Linked DNA regions of Homo sapiens: all the other regions are linked to region 1. Evidence: promoter capture Hi-C in 16 types of primary human blood cells and fetal thymus (Javierre and others, 2016). All regions are on one chromosome and are shown on one strand. Each heading gives the region's core, a stretch centred on a gene start or on the middle of the fragment in contact. The rest is flanking DNA. Distances are from core to core; before and after follow the strand shown. Region 1 holds the start of SEMG2 (semenogelin 2). Region 2 holds the start of WFDC13 (WAP four-disulfide core domain 13). Region 3 holds the start of WFDC6 (WAP four-disulfide core domain 6). Region 4 holds the start of SPINT3 (serine peptidase inhibitor, Kunitz type 3).

What was found. The method cuts DNA at HindIII sites, captures the fragments that hold promoters and counts their contacts. A CHiCAGO score of 5 or more calls a contact.
Region 2: a contact is called between the fragment with the promoter of WFDC13 here and the fragment with the promoter of SEMG2 in region 1, in 16 of 17 cell types (M2 macrophages, endothelial precursors, M0 macrophages and 13 more). The highest score is 19.6, in M2 macrophages.
Region 3: the fragment with the promoter of WFDC6 here is called in contact with the fragment with the promoter of SEMG2 in region 1 in 3 of 17 cell types (M2 macrophages, erythroblasts and total CD4 T cells); the score reaches 8.2 in M2 macrophages.
Region 4: the fragment with the promoter of SPINT3 here is called in contact with the fragment with the promoter of SEMG2 in region 1 in 5 of 17 cell types (M2 macrophages, M0 macrophages, erythroblasts and 2 more); the score reaches 7.8 in M2 macrophages.

Annotation. Positions count from the first base shown.
Region 1 is chr20:45,219,504-45,223,032 of GRCh38, forward strand. It overlaps SEMG2 (semenogelin 2), which reads left to right and starts at 1,870. Exons shown (of 3, transcript NM_003008.3): 1 at 1,870-1,962; 2 at 2,206-3,529. The coding sequence starts at 1,887. The HindIII fragment of the contact is 11,661 bases long and covers 1-2,653 here.
Region 2 is chr20:45,700,241-45,703,769 of GRCh38, forward strand. It overlaps WFDC13 (WAP four-disulfide core domain 13), which reads left to right and starts at 1,798. Exons shown (of 4, transcript NM_172005.2): 1 at 1,798-1,971. The coding sequence starts at 1,884. The region is part of intron 2 of WFDC10B (WAP four-disulfide core domain 10B); the gene reads right to left. The HindIII fragment of the contact is 1,162 bases long and covers 926-2,087 here.
Region 3 is chr20:45,537,752-45,541,280 of GRCh38, forward strand. WFDC6 (WAP four-disulfide core domain 6) reads right to left here and starts at 1,731. Exons shown (of 3, transcript NM_080827.2): 1 at 1,566-1,731; 2 at 213-343. The coding sequence starts at 1,656. It overlaps EPPIN-WFDC6 (EPPIN-WFDC6 readthrough), which reads right to left. Exons shown (of 5, transcript NM_001198986.2): 4 at 213-343. EPPIN (epididymal peptidase inhibitor) reads right to left here. Exons shown (of 4, transcript NM_020398.4): 4 at 2,875-3,529. LOC107987282 (a long non-coding RNA gene) reads left to right here. Exons shown (of 4, transcript XR_001754641.3): 3 at 785-928; 4 at 2,324-2,636. It also overlaps the pseudogene HSPD1P21. The HindIII fragment of the contact is 26,653 bases long and covers 1-3,529 here.
Region 4 is chr20:45,513,862-45,517,390 of GRCh38, forward strand. It overlaps SPINT3 (serine peptidase inhibitor, Kunitz type 3), which reads right to left and starts at 1,761. Exons shown (of 2, transcript NM_006652.2): 1 at 1,672-1,761. The coding sequence starts at 1,747. All of the region lies in intron 1 of LOC107987282 (a long non-coding RNA gene), which reads left to right. The HindIII fragment of the contact is 7,076 bases long and covers 1,196-3,529 here.

The DNA of each region.
Region 1 (3,529 bases), core at 620-3,119:
TAAATTTGTGTTCAGGAAAACTTTACTCTTTTCTTTTGGGGTCCCTGCCATAAGGAAATACTTACTGCCCTTAGGGCAAACAGATAAAACTGGTAAGATCTCAGAATGGCTCATAGAGAAACCACATAGCTCACATGCTTCAAGTTTGATGGCATAAGTAGCATTTTTTCCTATGGTTGGCCTTTCCCCTCTCCCCTTCCATATAGCATTGCTTACAGGAAGGTTAGGATTTTAAGAGAGAATAATAGAAAATAAGTTTCCAAGCCGTCCTTTCTCCAGAACTACCCTCCACAGTGTTCTGAATGCATACAGGGTCACTGTTCAAATGTTGCTGCTTCTCCTGTTGTCTTCTCATAACAAGGACTTTTTCAGTCAAAGTAAAGAAACTGGCCGGGTGCAGTGGCTCATGCCTGTAATCCCAGCAGTTTGGGAGGCTGAGGCGGGCGGATCACGAGGTCAGGAGATTGAGACCATCCTGGCTAACACGGTGAAACCCCGTCTCTACTAAAAATACAAAAAATTAGCCGGGCGTGGTGGCAGGCACCTGTAGTCCCAGCTACTTGGGAAGCTGAGGCAGGAGAATGGCATGAACCTGGGAGGCACAGCTTGCAGTGAGCCGAGATGGTGCCACTGCACTCCAGCCTGGGCGACAGAGCGAGACTCTGTCTCAAAAACAAACAAACAAAAAAAACAAAACAAACAAACAAACAAACAAAAAACCTTCCTTGGATTTTTCAAGAAGTTTTCACAATTGCAAAAAAACAAAACAAAACAACACAACACAACAAAACAAAACAAAAGCAAAAAAACCCTATGCTTCCACCCAAGGTAAAAATTTTAGCTTTAGGTCCACTCTCAATACATTATTTAATGAACTGAAGTTGGCAAATATTCCTCACAGCCTGTTGGAGGGTTCAGCAGTTTATTACAGAAGTATGAAATGCTTTTATTTAAAAAATGTATTTTGGTAAATACATTTTTGTTTAGGTAAATATCATCAAATAATCCAATTTGGAAACCAACATTCTTACTTCTTTTTCCAACAGTTGTTCCTATCATCATAAAAACATGTTAAATTTTTCTCATCCTTTCAAAAAATCTCTGGAGCTTACCTCACCCTCCAGATACAGCCTCACCTCTCATTCCACCATGAAATCAGACTTCTTGAGATGGTTTCAGCTGGACTCCATCCTTCAACTGACAACCCAACACAACTGTATTCATCTCTCGTTAACATTACTAGCAGTGAGTAACATCAGAAAGTTTTTGACACATGTTAGTCTTTTTTGTGATGAACTTCACAGATACATTTGACATTGGTATGCCTCATTTATTTGTTGAAATTTTTTTCTTTGGCTTCCATGAAGTTTCTTTCTCTTCTGTATCATTCTACTTCTATGACTGCTCCTTCTCGAGTAAAACAGAATGTGTCTCAGGATTACTTTAAAACAAGACAAAGTATAGAGTTATACCTAAAATTTAGTATTTAAGTTATTGGATCAGAAAGGAAACTCGCATTTAGAGTATGAAGGCATTGTCAGCCACCAATTACTTTTGTAACCTGAAGCTAGTCTCCTTCCTACTCCGGACTGAATTTCTTCTGTATAATGCAAGCGATCTGGCATGATGATATACAAAGACCGATAAAATTTTGCTGGGGATTCTGAAAGTAAAAAAAATTGCCTTTGATATTATGTCCCCATGCTAAGTCCCTGGGGACTTTGACATTATCCCCCACTGAGCAGGGGTGAGGAAGCTGGCATTTACTAATAAGCTATGAAAGGGCAGTGCCTTTTGACATTTCAGCTCCACCCATAGCACACCCACTCAAGGAACATATAAATGAAGAGATCCGCTCAGTTCTCAGACAAGATTTTTCAAGCAAGATGAAGTCCATCATCCTCTTTGTCCTTTCCCTGCTCCTTATCTTGGAGAAGCAAGCAGCTGTGATGGGACAAAAAGGTGAGTGGAGAGGGTAAGCCTTGGGGAAAGCTACTTTAAAAAAATGGCCTCTAAGGATATTCAGGGTGCAAACAGTAACCTGTTCAGGCACAGATTCTTCTCCTTGATGAGAATTGATTTTTCTCCACCCAACGCTGTAGGCTTTTGGAAATATCAGAAATTTGTTGGGAAAAGGTGGGAGGTAAGAGTTGCAAGAGAGCTTTGGAGATAATGAATGCATACATTTCTATTATCAATTACCAGGTGGATCAAAAGGCCAATTGCCAAGCGGATCTTCCCAATTTCCACATGGACAAAAGGGCCAGCACTATTTTGGACAAAAAGACCAACAACATACTAAATCCAAAGGCAGTTTTTCTATTCAACACACATATCATGTAGACATCAATGATCATGACTGGACCCGAAAAAGTCAGCAATATGATTTGAATGCCCTACATAAGGCGACAAAATCAAAACAACACCTAGGTGGAAGTCAACAACTGCTCAATTATAAACAAGAAGGCAGAGACCATGATAAATCAAAAGGTCATTTTCACATGATAGTTATACATCATAAAGGAGGCCAAGCTCATCATGGGACACAAAATCCTTCTCAAGATCAGGGGAATAGCCCATCTGGAAAGGGATTATCCAGTCAATGTTCAAACACAGAAAAAAGGCTATGGGTTCATGGACTAAGTAAAGAACAAGCTTCAGCCTCTGGTGCACAAAAAGGTAGAACACAAGGTGGATCCCAAAGCAGTTATGTTCTCCAAACTGAAGAACTAGTAGTTAACAAACAACAACGTGAGACTAAAAATTCTCATCAAAATAAAGGGCATTACCAAAATGTGGTTGACGTGAGAGAGGAACATTCAAGTAAACTACAAACTTCACTCCATCCTGCACATCAAGACAGACTCCAACATGGACCCAAAGACATTTTTACTACCCAAGATGAGCTCCTAGTATATAACAAGAATCAACACCAGACAAAAAATCTCAGTCAAGATCAAGAGCATGGCCGGAAGGCACATAAAATATCATACCCGTCTTCACGTACAGAAGAAAGACAACTTCACCATGGAGAAAAGAGTGTACAGAAAGATGTATCCAAAGGCAGCATTTCTATCCAAACTGAAGAGAAAATACATGGCAAGTCTCAAAACCAGGTAACAATTCATAGTCAAGATCAAGAGCATGGCCATAAGGAAAATAAAATATCATACCAATCTTCAAGTACAGAAGAAAGACATCTCAACTGTGGAGAAAAGGGCATCCAGAAAGGTGTATCCAAAGGCAGTATTTCGATCCAAACTGAAGAGCAAATACATGGCAAGTCTCAAAACCAGGTAAGAATTCCTAGTCAAGCTCAAGAGTATGGCCATAAGGAAAATAAAATATCATACCAATCTTCGAGTACAGAAGAAAGACGTCTCAACAGTGGAGAAAAGGATGTACAGAAAGGTGTATCCAAAGGCAGTATTTCTATCCAAACTGAAGAGAAAATACATGGCAAGTCTCAAAACCAGGTAACAATTCCTAGTCAAGATCAAGAGCATGGCCATAAGGAAAATAAAATGTC
Region 2 (3,529 bases), core at 548-3,047, 480 kb after region 1:
CAAATGGGTATATTCGTGCAAGAAAAACAGAGTTGAGAGTTCAAGTAACTAATTATCTTAAATCAAGAATTTATAGAGAATTGATAAAGAAGGGCTGCTACTCAGCACATCCTATGAAGTCAGCATAAACTTGCTATGAAACCAAGCAAGGACAATATGAGAAAGACAAGTTACAGGCCCAGTTCATTATGAACATAGATGTAAAATACCTTAAAAATAGCAAACTAAACCAAACAATATAAAAATGATAATATTCAATGATCACCTTATATTACCATAGAAATGGCTTAATGTTTGAAAATCTGAATGTTCACTGCATTAACAGATTAAAGGATATAAAAATGTTATCATCTCAATATACATAGAAAAAAGCAATACATATAATCTGACATAAACTAATTTAAAATTTCTTGTTAGGAATGAAAGAAAAATTTCTAAACCTGATAGAGGGTACTTATGAGAAACCTAAAGTGGAGACAATTCTAAAAGGGGAAACAAGAAGTTTTCATTTTAAATCAGGTATCAGACAAAAATACACACTATCACCACTTACATATGATGTACTCAAGGGCCTAGCGAGCACAGTGAGGCATTAAAAATGGCATAAAGTTTGAAGAAGAAAACTATAACTGCTTATTTGCCTATGATAAACACTGAAGAGAACACACAAAGAAACCATAATAAACAATGGGAGAATTTAGCAAGCTAACTAGTTACAAATTTGTGGAAAGAAGAAAAGATCCAAGCTTTAAAGAGAGGAAAGCAAGTTTGAAATAGTATTTGTAGAAAGTGGGAACACTGGCTTACTGAAGAAACTTAGTAAGATTGCCAGACCCTTTTTGGTTTGGTGATGGTGCATCTATTGTGCTGTTTAGTAGCCCAGTTGAGTTATTTTCCCCCAGCAACAATTATCTGCCTAGGTTCAAGCTTCAATGAAATTGATGGTTGGATTCATTCAGGGTTGCAGTTTTTGTAGGTAGATTCAAGCAAGGAGATTTAAATGACAGGTTCTGAGTCCTACATTGATAGAAAGAAAAGTAAACGCCTATAGGGGAGGACTACGAAATAGGGAAGTGAAGAGTCAATGTTTATTGGTTTCAGTGAGGTCAAATAATTGTCATGGTGGAGATTTTTGAGCAAACTGGAAAGTTAACTTCTCTACATTAGCAGTAAACAAAAGGAATTAGTTGAAAAGTTATGATAACATTTACAATTTCCTTTTAAAAACTTCAAGCCTCAGACCAGGCGCGGTGGCTCACACCTGTAATCCTAGCACTTTGAGAGGCTGAGGAGGGCAGATCACCTGAGGTCAGGAGTTCAAGACTAGCCTGGATAACACAGTGAAACCCCATCTCTACTAAAAATACAAAAATTAGCTGGACATGGTGGTACACGCCTGTAATCCCAGCAACTCAGGAGTCTGAGACACAAGAATTGCTTGAACCTGGGAGGAAGAGGCTGCAGTGAGCAGAGATCGCACCACTGCACTCCAGCCTGGGTGACAGAGCCAGACTCCATCATCTCAAAAAAAAAAAAAAAAAATTCAATCCTCTGTGAATAAATATAACATGTACAATTTCCACAGGGGAAAATTATAAAAAAATGTTAAGGGACATGAATAAGATCTAGATACAGATGAAAGAGATAGCAAGGTCAAGATTAGGGGAATAAAGGAGGATATGAAAACACTACGTGACCCTGGAGTGGGTGTGATTGGGAGGTGCTTGGATTCCTGCCCTGCCGGTTTTGATTGGAGTACACGGTGAAAGGCTAGTCACACTGGGCCTCCACTTTGCCCTCTTTCCTTCTCTTCTCCTCACAGCAGTGCCTGGTCAAACCCAGCAACCCTTGGCCAGAACTTACTCACCCATCCCACTGACACCATGAAGCCTGTGCTGCCTCTCCAGTTCCTGGTGGTGTTCTGCCTAGCACTGCAGCTGGTGCCTGGGAGTCCCAAGCAGCGTGTTCTGAGTAGGTGCTGGATCTGGGCCCAAGGAGGGAAGTAACATGTGTGGATAGGAGAGGATCTGAGGGCTGACAGTCTGTCACACCTCTTGGAAAAATACCGTGTCATGTTCAAGGGCCCAAGCTTTATTGTTGGCAAGATCTAGGTTTGAATCCCTGCTCTGTTGCTGAGTGACCTTGGGCATAGTATCTGGGCCTCAGGTTTTTATCCTTATAATGAATACAGGAGGAGAACAGATAATGCATGCAGACATAGCTCACTCTTACTAAACCATGGTAAATGCTCAGTAATATTAAATGCTGTAAATGTGATCAGCCTCATCATCCAGCTTAGTCTTGCTGCCCGTGGCTCCTTCATGGATGCTTGGACTCACTTTTCAAGCAATAAAACAGAGAGACAACGAAGTTGGTAGAACTCAAGCTAGAATCTACATAACCTTGGCCTTGGAGGATGTTTTGGGAAGGAGGGAAAGGAAGTCTTGCCTTTTATTCCACATTTTCAAACTCCAGAGGTACTGTACAATTACCGGTAATTAGCATCAATGGGACAGTGTAGAGTCCATCTCAGCAGCCACCACTGCCCAGCTCAACTCAAAAGAGCTCTGGCTCTAGTAATGTTGACCTTAACCAATACCAAGTGGGAAAAGAACTGTTATTCATCATACATCCACTCTTCTATGGGGAAAACATCTTCAGAATACTGGCGGCTCAGAAGAGGGATAAGTGTGGTAGCTCATGTGTCTGGGGAGGCTAGGTCCTGCTTAAGAAGTTTCAGAAAAGGCATGCAGGTTTGTAGGACTAAGAGGGACTAAGCAAGCTACAAGAAAATAGGAGTGCCCAGGGTAGAGTTAATTGGAGAATCAGAATTTGAGGAAAGGCACAAAGAGGCTTTCTAAAAGACTGGTAAATGCTGTGAGTGAAGTTGGGACCAGATACCCAGAAGAGGGGTCAAGACTTGAAAAGGGTGACCTCTCTGAGATCTCTGGATCATGGTGTCTATCTCTAAACTGCTCTGTTGAGCCCCAAGCTCTTCAAAGTGTGGATTAGTTCCAATTTCTTGCAGTGCCCCAGTGAGCTATAGAATAGCTGAGAGGCCAGGGGTGAGTACTAGTTATTGGTCTCTGTTAAATTGTCAACAGCTTGAACCTCAGCTTCTTTTACCCCAATTCTGGTGCCATTTGCTACTACAGTTATAGTCATGACCTCTTTCTTCATTCATTCCTTTCAAATCATCATAATATCCTATAGATTTCCTTCTAATTGCAAATATTTGCAGAGGAATAGACCCACAATTCCTCTATTTGCAATAGAATGCCCCACTTTTGACTTTTGCCCCCAAAGAAAGGGAGAATCACAAGGTACAAAAATTAGGACCTGGAAGGGCTTGGGGAAAGGGATTAATGGGGCCCATCTTTAGAGTCCAGGAATAGAAAGGAGATTGTGGGTTGTGGACTTAGGGAAGACTCTCCCAGGGCAGGTAGGTCTTAGCTTTGAACTGAAATACTTGGGGGTAGGGGAGGAAATAGGAAGTCAACATAATGATGCTTATTCTTCTCTAACAGTA
Region 3 (3,529 bases), core at 481-2,980, 320 kb after region 1:
ACATTGTTCACATCACTTACCAAAATAGAGGAAGAAATGAAATAAAATCCATGTCTCCCAAGTCCAGGACTGGCAGATTTGTGTCAAGTAGAAGATGTACCTAAACTCTTGGTCAGAGACCAGCCATCAGTGAACTAGGAGACAGAGGTAGTGCAGTGCAGGTGGAGATAGGAGGTGAGGGCACTGGGTAATTTAGGAAGCATCTGAGTTACCTTTCTGAAGTCTAAACATTTCTTTCCACGGCTGAACGGGCAACACTTCATGTTTTCTGGGCAATCTCTGGGTTTGGTACACTGGTCTATTTCTTCCACTTCGCATTCCACTTTGATTTTGGGACACGGCTCTAAGGGAGGGGAAGATATATTCCCTCAAGGCCTTAAAGGAGCCAGTGCTCCCCCTCCCCGAGACCAGGGCACCCCTCCAGAGTTAGAGAACTTTGTTTCCACTTCACCTATCCCCAGAAGGTAGTGGCCCTCAGGGGGCTCAGGAATTTCACAACACTGCTCACATCCCCAACCCCATAACAACTCACCATCGGATGCCTAAACCAACCCCTACCCCCTACCCGCACCATCTATGAGATTCCTGAGAGAAAGACGCATTCCTCTAAGACTGTTCTGGTCACTCAGCCTTGCTGTGCTTGGTTGCTCCCCCAGGAGGTGCTGTGGCTCTCGATGATTGAGATTAACATTTCTGGCATCAGATAGCTGGGCTTTTGAATTCTGTGAGACGCTTGGTGTGCCAGGCACTCTCTCTGAGCCTTGATTTCCTCATTTGCCCATAGGGTTGCTTTGAAGACTAACCAGCAACACAGTTTGACAAGCCATCGTCAAACTGCCTGGGGCAATGTAACGTAACAATGAGTAATATGGATGAAGCACTTACTGTGAGCTGCCTTTTCTCCTTAATCCTCATTACAAATCTATGGGTAAGTACTCTTAATATTCACATTTTGTAAACAGAAGAATTGGAAGCATAAGGAGATTATGTGAATTTGCCCAAGATCACACAGCTACTCAGGGGTGGAGCCAGGTTTGAACCTACAATGTGTGGCTCCTGAGTGCTCACTTTCAACCACTAATTTTCAGTGCCCAGTACAGTTAGCTGCTAATTGTGAGTCTTCACATTTCAGCATTCCAAGGGACTTCTGGAGACCATTCTTTAACCCAAAGACCAGGGTCCTCTGTGGGTATGGGTGTGGGGGCTGCAATGAGAACATTTGGAAGTTGACACAGGTGGTGTTGTGGGGAGCAGCCTGTTTTTCTTGTGGGAGACTTCCTTGGGCTTACTACTCCTTCTTAGTTCATTTCATGAGCTCTAGGTCCAGGCACCTCCAGGAAGAACTCTTTGGAATGGCAGCAAGGAGTCACTTGCCACAGATTTGGATGCCTGTATTCACCAAGGGAGTCTCTTACCAAGAGACTTCAAATAGCTCCCCTCTTTCCCACCTGGAATTCCAGGCAGAGGTGGAGAAAATAATTTCTCAGCTGCAAAATTATTCTTTGTTCCTTCCTCCCCACTGAGTTTCCTTTCCCCATTGCAAGGACGGAGTTCCCAATACTTACTGCCAAGGATGCCTTCAGCGTGCCCAGGTTCCTGGATGTCCCCCAAAAGGATGAATGGTACCAGGATTGGCAGAAGTCCTGAGAGTCCCATTTTAGGAAGTACTGGCCTGGTTGATGGCACCAAAACTAAGAACTGCTCCTCAGCAGCTCCTACATCTGCACTTTGCCTGCCCCGGTGTGGCCCAGCACCTTAAGAGACAGCCCTGGAGACAAGCCAGCCAGACTCCCCGATCAGGAACACCAGATCCCTGAGGCCATCAGTGGGACTACCTGGTACCTACACTGGGGGATAGGTGGCTCCTAATCCTCAGCAATCTGAGGCTTTCTGGTCTACCAGGGAAAGAGGGCACATGTTGTCTTGGGCTTTCCAGGCTCCCTTAGCAGAAGGGGAGGTTTAACTCCAGAGTCTTCCATTTCCCAGGGGGAGTTTGCAGGTTAACAGTATGCTAGCTCTCTTCCTTCTTTCTAATTTCACTCTTCTCCTGACATGTCTATTCTTATGTTTTATTTTTCTCACTCTGTTTCTTCTCTTTTCTGTGCATCTGTATGTCTTTTACTCTGTGCCTGTCTTTTTCTCAGGGAGTCTCTGTCTGTCTGAGTCTCTTTCTCCCCGCCCTTCACTTCCCTCTCTCTTCTTTCGTATGTAAAGATCAGTTACATTTATCCTTTAAGTCGTTTGATTTTGCAACAGTAAATAACTTCTTTCATTACTTTGGGACTTCTCCAACTCTGTTCTCCGTTTTTCCCTGTTGTCACAGCTACAGCATTGGATTAAAAGTCACACCCTGAAGCATTAACGCTTGAGCATCTGTACCAAGTTTTATATCCTTGGTATAAGCCCGAAGGAGGTGAGGAGCCAGTTACCTGGGCATCAGTTCCATCTGGCAAAGGACTGTGGGTAATGGAAGCATTTCTGCAGGGTGGCAGCAGGGTGTGTGTGCAGCAAGGCATGTCATCAGTGGTGAGTGAGAAGTTCATTCCTTTTTATGGCCGAATAATAGCCAATGCACATTGACAGCCTCCTACCTCTAGCATCAGTCCCTAATTTTCTGCTGTGGGTTTTCTCTGGCCCCCAGGGAGCTTGTATAGCTTGCAAGTATAACAGTTTGAAAGAGCGAGGGATTTAGTATCCCTGGCATCCAGTGGGCGTTGGGAATCAGTGGACAAATAGCTTAGCTTTCCCATCACTGGAGACAGATTAAGAAAATTTGTGGTCTGATATCCAGAATCTACAAGGAACTTAAACAAATTTACAAGAAAAAAAACAAACAACCCCATTGAAAAGTGGGCAAAGGACATGAACAGACACTTCTCAAAAGAAGACATTTATGCGGCCAACAAACATATGAAAAAAAGCTCAACACCAGTGATCATCAGAGAAATGCAAATCAAAACCACAATGAGATACCATCTCATGCCAGTCAGAATGGTGATTATTAAAAAGTCCAGAAACAACAGATGCTGGTAAAGCTGTGGAGAAACATGAATGCTTTTACACTGTTGGGAATGTAAATTGGTTCAACCATTGTGGAAGAGAGTGTGCCAATTCCTGAAAGATCTAGAACCAGAAATACCATTTGACCCAGCAATCCCATTACTGGGTATACACTCAAAGGAATATAAATCATTCTTTTATAAAGATACATGCATGTGTATGTTCACTGCAGCACTATTTACAATAGCAAAAACATGGAATCAAACCAAATATCCATCAACGATAGGCTGGATAAAGAAAATGTGGTACATATATGCCATGGAATACTATGCAGCCATAAAAAGAAATGAGATCACGTCCTTTGCAGGGACATGGATGAAGCTGGAAGCCGTTATCCTCAGCAAAGTAACGCAGGAACAAAAGTAAATACCACATGTTCTCACTTGCAAGTGGGAGATGAACAATGAGAACACGTGGACTGTTGAGGGGGCAGGGGGAGGGAAAGCATCAGGATAAATAGCTAATGCAT
Region 4 (3,529 bases), core at 511-3,010, 290 kb after region 1:
CAGCATGGTTCGACTGCAAAGGCTTGCAGGTTCTCCATCCATCTTGGTTGTTGTAAAATGAGTGAATGCACAGATGAATGATCACACCTATGGTGGAACTTCAGGCAGCAGCCTAGGGCTTGGAAAGGTTCAGACTCTGTCTTATCCTCCTACCTGCAAGGCTGACGCTAAGGGTGCAGGAGAATGGGGAAGAGGCAGAATAGCTTATTCAATCCAGGTGGGAGGTGGAGGGGCATGTTCTTAAGACATCCTAGTCACTGCATCATCGGCCCTTAGACCCTTACAGGTGACTCTGTAGGGGCTGGAGTCCCATCTGCTCTTAGTTTTCTCAGTCTTGCTTCTCTGCTCTTCCATTCCATTAAACCAAAGGAAAATCACTTGACTTGCTTCTTTTTTATGTAAAGTAGATAATGACACCCTGTGTGTGTGTTTTGAGTGTGACAGAAGCTGTTCTAAGTGCTTTACAAGAATCTATTAAGAGCTAAGTTATACTGAGAGCTTGACATACATCAGACTATTTGATTAATAAAGCAGAAAAGATGGTTAATCTTTTTTTATAGAAGAAGAAACTGATGCTCAGAGAGGCTATAAATGATGTTCCTGAGGCACAGAGTTTGTAAGTAGAGGAGCCTGGACCAGAACCCAGGTGTGTCTGACTCCAGGAATGCTCATACTGTAAACCACTACATTCTTCTTACTTATGGCAGACATTTTCAAACTTGAGTATGCGTCAGAATCATCTAGAAGGCTTGTTAGAGAGACCCACCTCCACAGTTTCTGATCAGGTGGGACTGGGAACTAGCATGTTTCCAGTTGATACTGCTGCTGCTATTGCTGTCAGACTAGGGGACAAACTCGAGAACCACTCATCTATAAGGTTATTGGGAGGTTTAGAGTTCCATTTATGTCTAAGAATCTATCATTAATAGCTCCATGTACATACATGCAGAGAACTATGCTTGCACATGCAAGAATGTTCACTGGCACATTGACAGTGATAATCTCCAGAGGGTAAGATTTTGATAATTTTTCACCTTCTTTCTTACCCTTTTGTGTATTCTAATATGCATTTTTATACAGGGCATCCTACTGGCTGCTTAAAAATCTTGGAAACTGCTGCCTACCATCCCCATTTCCAGCAGATTATCTTAGCTATAACTGCACTTCATCTCCCCACTTCCATTTGCAGATTCCAAGCTTCCACAGAGAAAGTGGTCCAGGAAGGAGCCTTTTCTGACAAGTGCATCTAACTTGGCTAAGTCCCTCACTCTCAAATTCTGGCTCTGATCTCCTTTTCCCAACCTCTCCTTGCCTGCCACCAGCCCCACCCCAGACATTGAAGGCCCCTTTTCCTGCTTTACTTATTTCATTTTCTATAGCACTTTGATCATCTATCATTTGTATTAGGTATTGTATGTCTCTCTCCCATTAGCATCTTAATTTCACAAAGGCAGGGTCTCAGGCTCTTTGCTTTAACCTCAGCACCTAGGACAGTGCCTGGCACATAACTATGTGCCCAACATATGTCTGATGAAGTGAATTGAACTGAATTGACTCTCAATCCGGTAAGGTAAGAAATGGGCTCTGTTTGTGCTGCATCACCTCCCCCACCACCCCGCCCCCCAGCCTGATTCCCAGTCTATTCTTTGAGATCCCACATTTCATACCAACCTCGTGCTAGTTCTGATCGAAGCTCTAGGCAGAGAGTGAGAATCAGGAGAAACGAGAGAGAGGCCTGAAGCTGCATGGTGCCACTCAGCCAGTGGCTCAGCCTGGGGTTGCCATTTTAGGGAGAAAAGGGACCAAGGGGAGGAGCCTGGCCCCACATCCAGCTCATTCACCTTTAACTCAGGCTTTTCATGGGGCTGGGCTGCCTCAGGAACAGAGTGTTCAGCCAAAGCACAGCTTCACCTCTCTCCTCCTGGCCTTATCTGATCTGGCCACCCAGGCTACTTTAGTACCACTTCAGGGTGGAAGCCTTTTTCACAATAATAAAAAGACAGCAGCCATTTTTGAGTACCTTTCCTTTTCCAGGCACCATGCAAAATAGTTTTCACACATTGCTTCCCTTAAGTCTACACGGGAATCCCACAACACTAACACTCCCATTTTGTAGATGAGAGGAGGTTATGCTACTTTGACCATTGTTACATGGACAGCAAGTTTCAGAGACAAGACTGAGACCCCGGTCTGTCTGCTTCAGTGCCCTCGTATCACTCATTCATTCAACAAACATTCATCAAGTACCCACACTGCACCAGGCAAAGTATTAGATGCTGCCTCCATCCCATCTGGGTGCTCCCAGGAAATTATGGCAACAACACACACAAACACATTGGAAGTCAGAAACAGTCACCTACTTGGAGGAGGAGCAGATTCATTATATTTTAATAGAAATATCAAAAGCACCATGTAGAAGGAGGGCCCAGCTTTGTTTGCTTCAGAGGGTCATGGTCTCTAGAGACACACCCCCAGAATCCAGCACATTCCAACTGTCTCCTTTCCTTGACTCTCTAGAGATCCATTTTTTTTGAAAGACAAAGCCAGCATGCTTTAGGGAGATTTAGTGAGCCTCAGATTTAAAATTTGAGGTTGTGATGGGTCCAGCTATTCTTTTTCAAGAAGCATTCTATCATATATTTATTATTATTTATTTTTAATTGAGAAATAAAAATTGTATAAAGGCAGTCCCCAATTTACAATGGTTTGACTTACAGTGTTTGACTTTATGATGGTGCAAACACAATGCACAGTCAGTAAAAACAGTACTTGGAATACCCATACAACCATTCTGTGTTCACTTTTAGAACAGTATTCAATAAATTACATTAGATATTCAACACTTCATTATAAAAGGGGCTTTGTGTTAGATGATTTTGCCCAACTGTAGACTAGTATAAGTGTTCTGAGCAAGTTTAAGGTAGGTAAGGCTAAGCTATGATGTTTGGTAGGTTAGGTGTATTAAATGCATTTCAACTTCTGATATCTTCAACTTAGGCTAGGTTTATTAGGCTATAATCTCATCATAAGTTGAGAAACATTATATATTTATGAGGTACAATATGATGTTTTGAAATATATGTGTGTATATATATATAGAGAGAGAGAGAAATTTTCTCTCTTAGCAATTTTCAAGTGTACAATATGTTATTAACTACGGTCACCATGCTGTGCAATAGGTCTTTACAACTTATTCCGTCTGTCTAACTGAAATTTTGTACCCTTTGACCAGCACCTTCCCAATACTTCCCACCCCCAGCCCCGGGTATCCACCATTCTACTCTCTGCTTCTGTGACTTCAACTTTTTTAGATTCCACATGTAAGTGAGATCACCTGGTATTTGTCTTTCTGTCCCTGGCTTATTTCACGTAACCTGCAGGTTCATCCACGTTGTCACAAATGGTAGGATTTCCTTCTTTTTAAAGGCTGAGTAGTATTCCATTGTGTATACATACCACATTTTCTTTATCCATCCAGTGACGGACACTTGGGTTGATTTAAGTCCAGCTACTCTTGACCTGGGCAAGT